Linked DNA regions of Homo sapiens: regions 1 and 2 are each linked to region 3. Evidence: promoter capture Hi-C in human tissues and cell types (Jung and others, 2019). All regions are on one chromosome and are shown on one strand. The core of a region is centred on a gene start or on the middle of the fragment in contact, and the rest is flanking DNA. Distances in the headings are between cores, read along the strand shown.

Region 1 (3,544 bases), core at 265-2,764, 37 kb before region 3:
CTGGGTGACCAGTGATGAAAATTTCTGAAACATTTTCCTAAGAAGTCAGTAAACACATATTTATTGAGCACCCATATGTGGCCAGGATTGTGCATGAGCAGCTTGAAGGAAAATGCAAAAGAAGCATTAAATCTGTTGGTAGGCGACAATACAGGGAAAATATTAAATATTTATTTGAAATTCCTATATTTACTCCCACCGACCTCAGGAGGAAGTGTCCTTTGCTTTTCAGCTATTAATAGTTTTGGAGAGGGATACTGGATAAACTGAGAGTGGCCAAGTTACTTAAGAACAGGGAAAGCTGTTCGTAAGTTTCCAATGGAAGAGTAGGATGCTGAGAATGAAGTTTTTGGTGTCGCAAAAAAAAAAAAAATTAACACGGGAACAAATGATCTCAGCAAGGCGAGCTTTACTTTCTGCAGAAAGGGTGCTACTCAATAGCTGTCCAGCCATGAGAGCACACCAAACAAAGGAGACAGAGTTATTTATAATCTGACGCGTCTGCCCTACTGTTTTGTCCAATTTCCATTGGCTGGAATAGGACCTCACATTTTACACATTACCCGATTGGCTATTAGTTTAAAACTTTTTTAATTGGGTAAGGGGAACAGAACAAAGAAAGAAAAGGAAGTTGCCCAGGGATAGTTAAGGAAGCATCTGCAAATAAAGAATGGCATGCACTATGGGCTGTGGCTTGTCTAGTTCTGCCCAGGCATGCTGGAGCAAGCTAGGACAGCTGATTTGGAATATATATATATATATATATATATATATATACTAATAGTGGATAGCAATGTTATAGTAAGAAATTGTGACTTTTTGTAATCTTTGAAGAAGAACTTTCCCATTTCTCACAAGGAGGCTAGAAGTGGCCAGAGAATGGAGTGAGAAAAGCCAAAATGGTGATGAACTTTGCATGAGAAGGCAGAGCATGGAGCAGAAAAGAGAGAGAGAAGTTGCTCTAAGGAGTGGATCTTAGAGTACTCCTACAGAGTCAAAGAGAAATATTTAGTGAATTTTAAATGAATTCCTACTTGGTAATATGTGAGGTAAACAACTTTCTTGTCTTTCCAGGAAACCCTCAGTAAAAATATCTCTTTATGAAGTTTTTGGAGTCTGATTTGTTGAGAGGTTTGGAAATAGGACTTACACTGGTCTTAAGAACTGGTTACATTCAAATATAGTAGAAGCATAACAGGATATACTCAAGTACTCATTTATCTAGCATGAACTATAAATATAGGAGTTGTTTTTGCCACCAAATTTGGACACATGATTTGAAAAATGTGATTTACCTGTGCTTATTTAGTTGATTAGTCATTAAAATTTCTGAAATGTTTATCTACTGAATCAATAAACTTATCTGTTGAGCACTTATTATGTGTCCAGAATGAACTGTGCATAACAAGCCCTAAGGAAAATTAAAAAGATGTGCTACTTGTGGCTCTTTGAAACAACATAATAGAGATTATTTTAGGTAATTATAAACTGTCTTAGACTGGGGCTATCCCAGAAAACTCAGGCCACAGGCTCACTAACTACATGCTATCAGGAAGTTAAGCAGGAGATCAGAGAAGATTTTAATAAAGTAACCACTTTTTTTTTTCTGAGTTGCTATGGTGGGAATTTTACTGAATTAATATTTATTGAGCACCTAGTAGGTGCCAGGTGCCCTGCTAGGCCCCAGCACATAGATGAGGCATTAAACATGCCCTTCAGAAAAGCGTGGTCAAAGGAAGAAAGAGAGAGAGCAAGACATACAAACAAATATTATGGTAAATGGAATAAAGGTCATGATAGCTGTTACTGCAAGTTTAGCCTGACTGACCCCATGACCCTGTTGAGCTAGGCTTTGCCCATCCAGGTGCAGAGATAGGAATCCTGATGATTAGGCAGGGATAGCAAGTGAGGTCAAAGGAATTGGTGAAGGATGTTGAATAAATAGAAATGTACAAGGGACAGGAAGTAAATGGAGGAAAGAGATATTCATTCAATGGCATGAAGTCTAGTAGAGGTTTGGGGACTTAGTTGGTACCCAGTATTGCAAGAGCTTCCCAATTGCACTTCTTATTTTCAGTCCAAGCTCATAATTAGCAAGTGAATCTTCTTTAAAATATGGCACATACATGCTGTCCTCTCAAAAGTCTCACAGTTGTTTAAGAGCATAAGTCCCGACTTTTTCTGACATTCAAGATCATCTACAATTTAGCCCCAACATACAATTTTGACCTACAAGAACAGCATTTTTATATATTTCAACCACATAAATTTGTCTCTCTTTACTCCTCCACAAATATGCTCAACTTTAATCATGTTTGACTTCTTTATTGTCTCTGTGTCTTTTTAAAAAATTCCTAATTGCTAAAAACCTTTTTCTAATACTGTTCTTTCATGAAGTTCCTCCAGGTCCCCCTTGACTCCCACCCACAATATGCGATTTCTTTCTCAGCTGAATATACATTGTAATTGGTTTCTCTCTATGGTGTATTCTGTGTTACATTATTATTATTTACATATATCTATGTTTTTTAACCTCTGATTATGAGATTCTTATTGTAATCAACTTTTGATCTTTCCTCTCCTCATACTCATAGCAACTAATACAATGTAAGACTATCGATTACAGTTAAAATAAACAAAATTGAGTGTTTGATGGAGTTGATAGTGAGATACTTGAAGATCCAAAGCAGAAATGCAGGAGAGATACTGAGTTGTGATCCACTGGAGGGCTGATTGAAGAATCTCTCTTTCTCCTTTCCTCTTTTTCCCATGCTCTCTGTTCAGAGAGAGAGAGAGACAGAGAGAGAGAGAGAGAGTGTGTGTGTGTGTGTGTGTGTGTGTGTGTGTTTGGGGGGGAGGTCTTCTTAATATGTAAATGGAGGCTAGGAAATCTAAAAGTATTAGTAGCTGTGAGTAGGCAAAACCACTATAACCTTATTTATTGTGTAATGAGATGGACAGCTTCATTTAAACACTGTGAATAATAAAAAATGCTTTTTGGGGGGATTTCAATATACAGTTTTTCAACAGTTTCAATTAGTGGATATAAAGTATTTTCAATGCCAGCACTTTCTGAGAATGAATTTTATCCTAAAGACTTTTGTCTCCTACTTGCATGAGAATTTTTTTAACAAAAAACTACTATTTTTGTTTTGGCCAATTTTTCCCACTTGGAGTAGCTGTGTTTACCCAATACCTGTATCCCATTGTCTCTAGGAAGTAACTAGCTTGCTTTTGATTTTACAGGCCCATAGGTGGAAGGGACTTGCTTTGTCTCAGATGAGACTTTCAACTGTGGACTTTTGAGTTAATGCTGAAATGAGTTGAGACTTTGGGGGACTGTTGGGATGGCATGATTGCTTTTGAAATGTGAGGACATGAGATTTGGGAGGGGTTGGGGTGGAATGATATGGTTTGGCTCTGTGTCCCCACTCAAATCTCATCTTGTAGCTCCCATAGTTCCCACGTGTTGTGGGAGGGCCCAGGTGGGAGATAATTGAATCATGGGGGTGGGTCTTTCCTGTGCTGTTCTTGTGATAGTGAA
Region 2 (3,416 bases), core at 84-2,583, 34 kb after region 3:
ACACACTGCTTTGAATGTGTGCCAGAGATTCTGGTATGTTGTGTGTTTGTTCTCATTGGTTTCAAAGAACATCTTTATTTCTGCCTTCATTTCATTATTTACCCAGTAGTCATTCAGGAGCAGGTTGTTCAGTTTCCATGTGGTTGAGCGGTTTTGAGTGAGTTTTTTTAATCCTGAGTTCTAGTTTGATTGCACTGGGGTCTGAGAGACAGTTTGTTATAATTTCTGTTCTTTTACATTTGCTGAGGGGTGCTTTACTTCCAACTATGTGGTCGATTTTGGAGTAGGTGTGGTATGGTGCTGAAAAGAATGTATATTCTGTTGATTTGGGGTGGAGAGTTCTGTAGATGTCTATTAGGTCTGCTTGGTGCAGAGCTGAGTTCAATTCCTGGGTATCCTTGTTAACTTTCTGTCTTGTTGATCTGTCTAATGTTGACAGTAGGGTGTTAAAGTCTCCCATTATTATTGTGTGGGAGTCTAAGTCTCTTTGTAGGTCACTGATGACTTGCTTTATGAATCTGGGTGCTCCTGTATTGGGTGCATATATATTTAGGATAGTTAGCTCTTCTTGTTGAATTGATCCCTTTACCATTATGTAGTGGCCTTCTTTGTCTCTTTTGATCTTTGTTGGTTTAAAGTCTGTTTTATCTGAGACTAGGATTGCAATCCCTGCCTTTTTTCTTTTCCATTCGCTTGGTAGCTCTTCCTCCATCCCTTTATTTTGAGCCTATGTGTGTCTCTGCATGTGAGATGCACCTGAATACAGCACACTGATGTGTCTTGACTCTTTATCCAATTTGCCGGTCTGTGTCTTTTAATTGGAGCATTTAGCCCATTTACATTTAAAGTTAATATTGTTATGTGTGAATTTTTTCCTGTCATTATGATGTTAGCTGGTTATTTTGCTCGTTAGTTGATGCAGTTTCTTCCTAGCATTGACAGTCTTTACAATTTGGCATGTTTTTGCAGTGGCTGGTACCGGTTCTTCCTTTCCATATTTAGTGCTTCCTTCAGGAGCTCTTTCAGGGCAGGCCTGGTGGTGACAAAATCTCTCAGCATTTGCTTGTCTGTAAAGTATTTTATTTCTCTTTCACTTATGAAGCTTAGTTTGGCTGGATATGAAATTCTGGGTTGAAAATTCTTTTCTTTAAGAATGTTGAATATTGGTCCCCACTCTCTTCTGGCTTGTAGAGTTTCTGCCGAGAGATCAGCTATTAGTCTGATGGGCTTCCCTTTGTGGGTAACCCGACCTTTCTCTCTGGCTGCTCTTAACATTTTTTCCTTCATTTCAACTTTGGTGAATCTCACAATTATGTGTCTTGGGGTTGCTCTCGAGGAGTATCTTTGTGGCATTCTCTGTATTTCCTGAATTTGAATGTTGGCCTGCCTTGCTAGATTGGGGAAGTTCTCCTGGATAATATCCTGCAGAGTGTTTTCCACCTTGGTTCCATTCTCCCCATCACTTTCAGGTACACCAATCAGATGTAGATTTGGTCTTTTCACATAGTCCCATATTTCTTGGAGGCTTTGTTCATTTCTTTTTATTCTTTTTTCTCTAAACTTCTCTTCTCGCTTCGTTTCATTCATTTCATCTTCCATCACTGATACCCTTTCTTCCAGTTGATCGCATCAGCTACTGAGGCTTCTGCATTCTTCACATAGCTCTCGTGCCTTGGTTTTCAGCTCCATCAGGTCCTTTAAGTACTTCTCTGCATTGGTTATTCTAGTTATCCATTCATCTAATTTTTTTTTCAAAGCTTTTAACTTCTTTGCCATTGGTTCGAATTTCCTCCTGTAGCTCGGAGTAGTTTGATCATCTGAAGCCTTCTTCTCTCAACTCATCAAAGTCATTCTCTGTCCCGCTTTGTTCCGTTGCTGGTGAGGAGCTGCATTCCTTTTGAGGAGGAGAGGCGCTCTGATTTTTAGAGTTTCTAGTTTTTCTGCTCTGTTTTTTTCCCATCTTTGTGGTTTTATCTACCTTTGGTCTTTGATGATGGTGACATACAGATGGGTTTTTGGTATGGATGTCCTTTCTGTTTGTTAGTTTTCCTTCTAACAGACAGGACCCTCAGCTGCAGGTCTGTTGGAGTTTGCTGGAGGTCCACTCCAGACCCTGTTTGCCTGGGTATCAGCAGCAGTGGCTGTAGAACAGTGTGTATTGGTGAACCGCAAATGCTGCTGCCTGATCGTTCCTCTGGAGGTTTTGTCTCAGAGGAGTACCCGGCCGTGTGAGGTGTCAGTCCGCCCCTACTGGGGGGGTGCCTCCCAGTTAGGCTATTCGGGGATCAGGGACCCACTTGAGGAGGCAGTCTGCCCGTTCTCAGATCTCAAGCTGTGTGCTGGGAGAACCACTACTCTCTTCAAAGCTGTCAGACAGGGACTTTTAAGTCTGCAGAGGTTACTGCGGTCTTTTTGTTTGTCTGTGCCCTGCCCGCAGAAGTGGAGCCTACAGAGGCAGGCAGGCCTCCTTGAGCTGTGGTGGGCTCCACCCAGTTCCAGCTTCCCAGCCGCTTTGTTTACCTAATCAAACAACTAACTCAGCAATGGTGGGCGCCCCTCCCCCAGCCTCGCTGCTGCCTTGCAGTTTGATCTCGGACTGCTGTGCTAGCAATGAGCGAGACTCCGTGGGCATGGGACCCTCCGAGCCAGGTGCGAGATATAATCTCCTGGTGTGCCTTGTTTTAAGCCCATTGGAAAAGCACAGTATTAGAGTGGGAGAGACCTGATTTTCCAGGTGCCGTCTCTCACCCCTTTCTTTGACTAGGAAAGGGAATTCCCTGACCCCTTGCACTTCCTGGGTGAGGCGATGCCTCGCCTTGCTTTGGCTCGTGCACGGTGCACTGCACCCACTGACCTGCGCCTACTGTCTGGCACTCCCCAGCGAGATGAACCTGGTACCTCAGTTGGAAATGCAGAAATCACCCGTTTTCTGCCTCACTCACGCTGGGAGCTGTAGACCGGAGCTGTTCCTATTCGGCCATCTTGGCTTCTCTCTGAGCTAATACTTTTAAAATATTTTGCACTCCACAGAGGAAGGTTTTATATGTAAGTCTGAGTTTTGTTTTTCTGAGTTGTTTTCAGTTGGTCCATGTGATTACATTTTTATACATGGTAAAAATTTATATATTTTTTTCCAAGTCTTTTTCTTTTTCTTTTCTTTTCTTTTTTCTTTTTATTTTTGAGACGGAGTTTTGTTCTTGTTGTCCAGGATGGAGTGCAATGGCATGATCTCAGCTCACCGCAACCTCTGCCTCCCGGATTCAAGTGATTCTCCTGCCTCAGCCTCTTGAGTAGCTGGGATTACAGGTATGTGCCACTACACCTGGTTAATTTTGTATTTTTAGTAGAGATGGGGTTTCTCAATGCTGGTCAGGCTGGTCTCAAACTTCTGACCTCAGGTGATCCATCCGCCTTGG
Region 3 (3,548 bases), core at 175-2,674:
ACTCGGGAGGCGGAGCTTGCAGTGAGCTGAGATCGCGCCACTGCACTCCAGCCTGGGCTACACAGGCAGACTCCGTCTCAAAAAAAAAAAAAAAAAAATGTTAGAACCATTCAACTAGCATTCTGTAGACCAAATTATCTAAACAGTAGCTCTCCTCTTCCTTTTTCTGCCATGTTATCCATAAGATTTGGCCTGTATCACCTTATAATAAATGAAGAGAGTCTTAAATTCTTATAATACCAAACTCCTTTGGAGAGAATTCAGAATAGATTTATGTCATCTCAAATTCTATCCTATTCCAGTTAATGTTACAGACAGATTCTAGTATACTTTACAAAGATAGGTGAATAAGTAGAGTTTTGAAAAGATACAGACATAAAAGTGAAGAACAGATGCCTTCTGATGCTAGATTTTCCAAAACTCCTACTGTTATGCTTATATAGAAATCATTCTCAGACCTTCCTTGGATTAATTTCTGTTCCTAGAGCAAACTGGTAGTTATTTCTTTCTTTAATAGAACATGAACTTGTCCATCACATCCTAGAAAGTTAGTCCTAGGGATATCCTTTAAAGCCTAAAGGAGTAAATTAAGAGCAAAAAAAGGAAGTAGACCTTGCAACAGGTGGTGAGTGTCTGAGATATAGCACTAGGAGAGAAATAATATAGATTGAAAACAGAAATCCTTAAACATTTCTCATATAAACCCATGAAAGATAGATCCATAAATATTGTGGGGACTATGGGGACTAGGAAGCTTGGAAGTATCCCTAATCTAGATAGTGATGGTAGGCTAAATATCTACGGCTTCCGTAAACGTTCCTCTAAACCTCCCTGTAAAAAACACACTAAGCTGATTGTGTAATGAGCTGATCCAGTACAATTGCCTCCAATTTCATTCTGGACCCTGAACAGGAGGGGACATCGTGACAAAGCAAATTGTCTGGTATCATGAATTTGGAACACCGTAAGTGATCTTTACTGAGGGTTACATTCTGTCATTGTCAGCCTTTTAAGGAGGCCTTGCCACCAGCGCAGGGGAGGTGAAGTCTAAGGGAAGGTAATATTGTCAATGCCTGCTAATTAGTTCTACCCTGGAGATTTTAACTTTCTGCGAAGTTTTTAAAAACAACTTCCAAAACTCTGCTGATCCTGAAATGTTCGAGAATTCAGAGTTCCTAGACAATGGCTACTGTCCCCCTTCCCACTGATTAGGGGAGTTGGCATTTCAGGAACCAGAGTTTCTAAGGGCGCCAAATAGAAGGGCTCAAAGGGAATCAGCAGGCGATGGTTACTGTGGGCGGGTAAATCAGGTGATTTAGAGGAGGGGTTTGGCGAGGTTGGGGTCGGGCTTTAAACGTGGGAGGGCTAATTAACAGGAGATTAACTGGAGAGGGGCGGTGCCTGCGTCCGGCCCGCGCGGCCACAGTCCCTGCATTGCGCGCGACCCGGCGGCGGGACAGGCTTGCTGCTTCCTCCTCCTCGGCCTCACCGTGCGTACTGGGAGGGGAGAAGGGGACCGCATGCAAAGGGTGGCAGGCAGGGAGGGCCAGGGTGGGTGGCAGATGGAAGACTTGGGGGGGTCTCTGCCAGCTGGAAGTGCTTGGCTCCACTTAGCAGCTAAACTTAGCTTTTCAATCGATCGCTTTTGAAAGGGAATTGTATTTCTGTCCCCGTGCGGGTAAGTTTTCCCATTTCTCAAACTCCAGGAATGAAACGAGAGAGTCTTTTCATGCTTGAGTGATGATTTCCAAACTTAGCCTTTTCAAGTCAAAGTAACCTCCTGTTTGAAAGGGTCCCTTGAACTCTGGGGAAGGAGGAAAAGGCACGTGTAGTAATGGAGGAAATGCCTGTAGTTTGAACGACTGCTGTTCTCCCCAAGAGTGCAAAAGCCTGCGATGTCTCAGGTTTCATGGGCATAGTGGCCTTTATGCCTATTGTAAGGCAGGATTTGCTCTTCTGAGTTCACTTTGATAGGAGAAACATCAGCAAGTTTTAAAATAATACTAAATAATACTACTGCTAATAATGCTAGCTATCGAAACAAGAGGATGTGGGTTAGATGATAATATTTTTGTGTGATATTATAGCCAGTGACAAGAGAGCTAAGGGTGAGCCCCTTGGGACGGTTCTCACCTGTGCCCCACTTCCCCAGTCTGGAGGAGGAAGCCATGTGGAAGGAGAAAAGGAGAAGGGAACTCTCTTTTTCGGGAATTAAGGTGTCATATATTGCTCTAGCTGGCTTGGGACAGAGGAGAGAGGAGTGCATGTAAATCTTCTAGTCTCTCTGCTTCTCTTGAAATGTGGCAGTCTGAGCTCCACGTTTATATTCCCCTATTTCTTCTCCCTAATTTCTTACCCAGTGAGTGCTGAGTGGGTGCCCGCAAGCATTGCTGTATAGCACCCAGGCCTCCAGTGAGCAATCCTTAAAGCCCAGTTTTCCTGGGGTCCCAGCCTGCTGTGAGTCCCAGCCTACACCTACCTTTTGCATATGCTTTTCTTGGCCTTAGGATAGTACTGGACTTTGTTGTCCTCTGCTGTTTCCAAAATAAGAGGGCTATGTGTGCGATTATCTTTGGTAATTAAAAAAAAAAAAAAAAAAAAGGCAAATCAGTCCAAATTTGGATATTACCCTCTCTGGCAGACGAGTAAAATTTTTCTACCGCTTTGTTTTAGAGTGGTGTCTATGAATCCCTGAGATTGGAAAAGGAGGTCAGGTCAGCACAGAGAAAGGCCTTACCCCACCACTCTCCCGAGAGGCACCAGCATTTCACCTGCAGCCTCTGGGCTCTGAACCCCACTTTGCATGAGACCACATAGTGGGCTGAGTCTGCAGCCACCACGATGCCTTCAGGAAATGCTAGAATTCATCTAGAGTTCCAGATTAACGTATCCGCAACATGGCCACCGAATTATCTTTTTTCTTTATCTCATGTGTAGTGTTTGTTAGTTTTAGAAGGTACAAAATTGCAGAGTCATGGCCCTGGGGATGCGTGCCCAGATTATTCATGTGTTTCACAATATTGATGCAGAAAGGCTGGCCACCTCATCCTGAGAAGAGAACTTTGCTCATTTTGGCCAAAAGCCTGTAAAGGGAAAGGGCGTTCCTCAACTGAGAAGTGAAGATTCTTCTCTGCTAGATAGTACGGGGGTTTGGGGGGAGGGGTAGAAAACAGGAATGAGATTTGACAAGGAAAGGCCTCCAGAAGACCAGAGCTGTTGAGAATTCTTAGCCTTGATGGTGGGTAGCCCAGAGGTAAACACTTGAGAAAACTAAGTTGCAGTCTTGGTCTCTCCACTGTGAATTTGGGTCATATTACTCACTACTTTTCTGGGCCTTAATTTCCTTACATACTAAAGGTAGAAAAAAATATTATTTGCTCTACCTCAGGATTTTTCGGGTCAAGCGAGATAAAATATGCAAAAGCTTTTTGAAAATTCTAAAATCCTCAGTGCCTAGAACAGCGCCAAAGTCGGAAGTTTTTTATTTACCAAACACACAGCATTTAACAGGTCCCAGAGCTTCTTTTTTTTTTTTTTTTTTTGAGACG

Evidence for each region. Contacts are between HindIII fragments. The study calls those that stand out against the background at their distance.
Region 1: a contact is called between a fragment that was not itself captured here and the fragment with the promoter of MGST1 in region 3, in 1 of the 25 tissues and cell types used here (hippocampus).
Region 2: a fragment that was not itself captured here is called in contact with the fragment with the promoter of MGST1 in region 3 in 1 of the 25 tissues and cell types used here (dorsolateral prefrontal cortex).

The regions. Positions count from the first base shown.
Region 1 is chr12:16,309,298-16,312,841 of GRCh38, forward strand. No RefSeq gene overlaps it. Among named protein-coding and RNA genes, the nearest start is that of SLC15A5, 33 kb to the left of the region's middle. The HindIII fragment of the contact is 6,943 bases long and covers 1-3,544 here.
Region 2 is chr12:16,380,299-16,383,714 of GRCh38, forward strand. It overlaps a transcript of MGST1 not described here. Among named protein-coding and RNA genes, the nearest start is that of MGST1, 34 kb to the left of the region's middle. RefSeq lists enhancers at 2,060-2,653, 2,654-3,246. The HindIII fragment of the contact is 5,333 bases long and covers 1-3,416 here.
Region 3 is chr12:16,346,221-16,349,768 of GRCh38, forward strand. It overlaps MGST1 (microsomal glutathione S-transferase 1), which reads left to right and starts at 1,425. Exons shown (of 4, transcript NM_020300.5): 1 at 1,425-1,490. RefSeq lists enhancers at 515-1,444, 2,375-3,304. The HindIII fragment of the contact is 4,760 bases long and covers 77-3,548 here.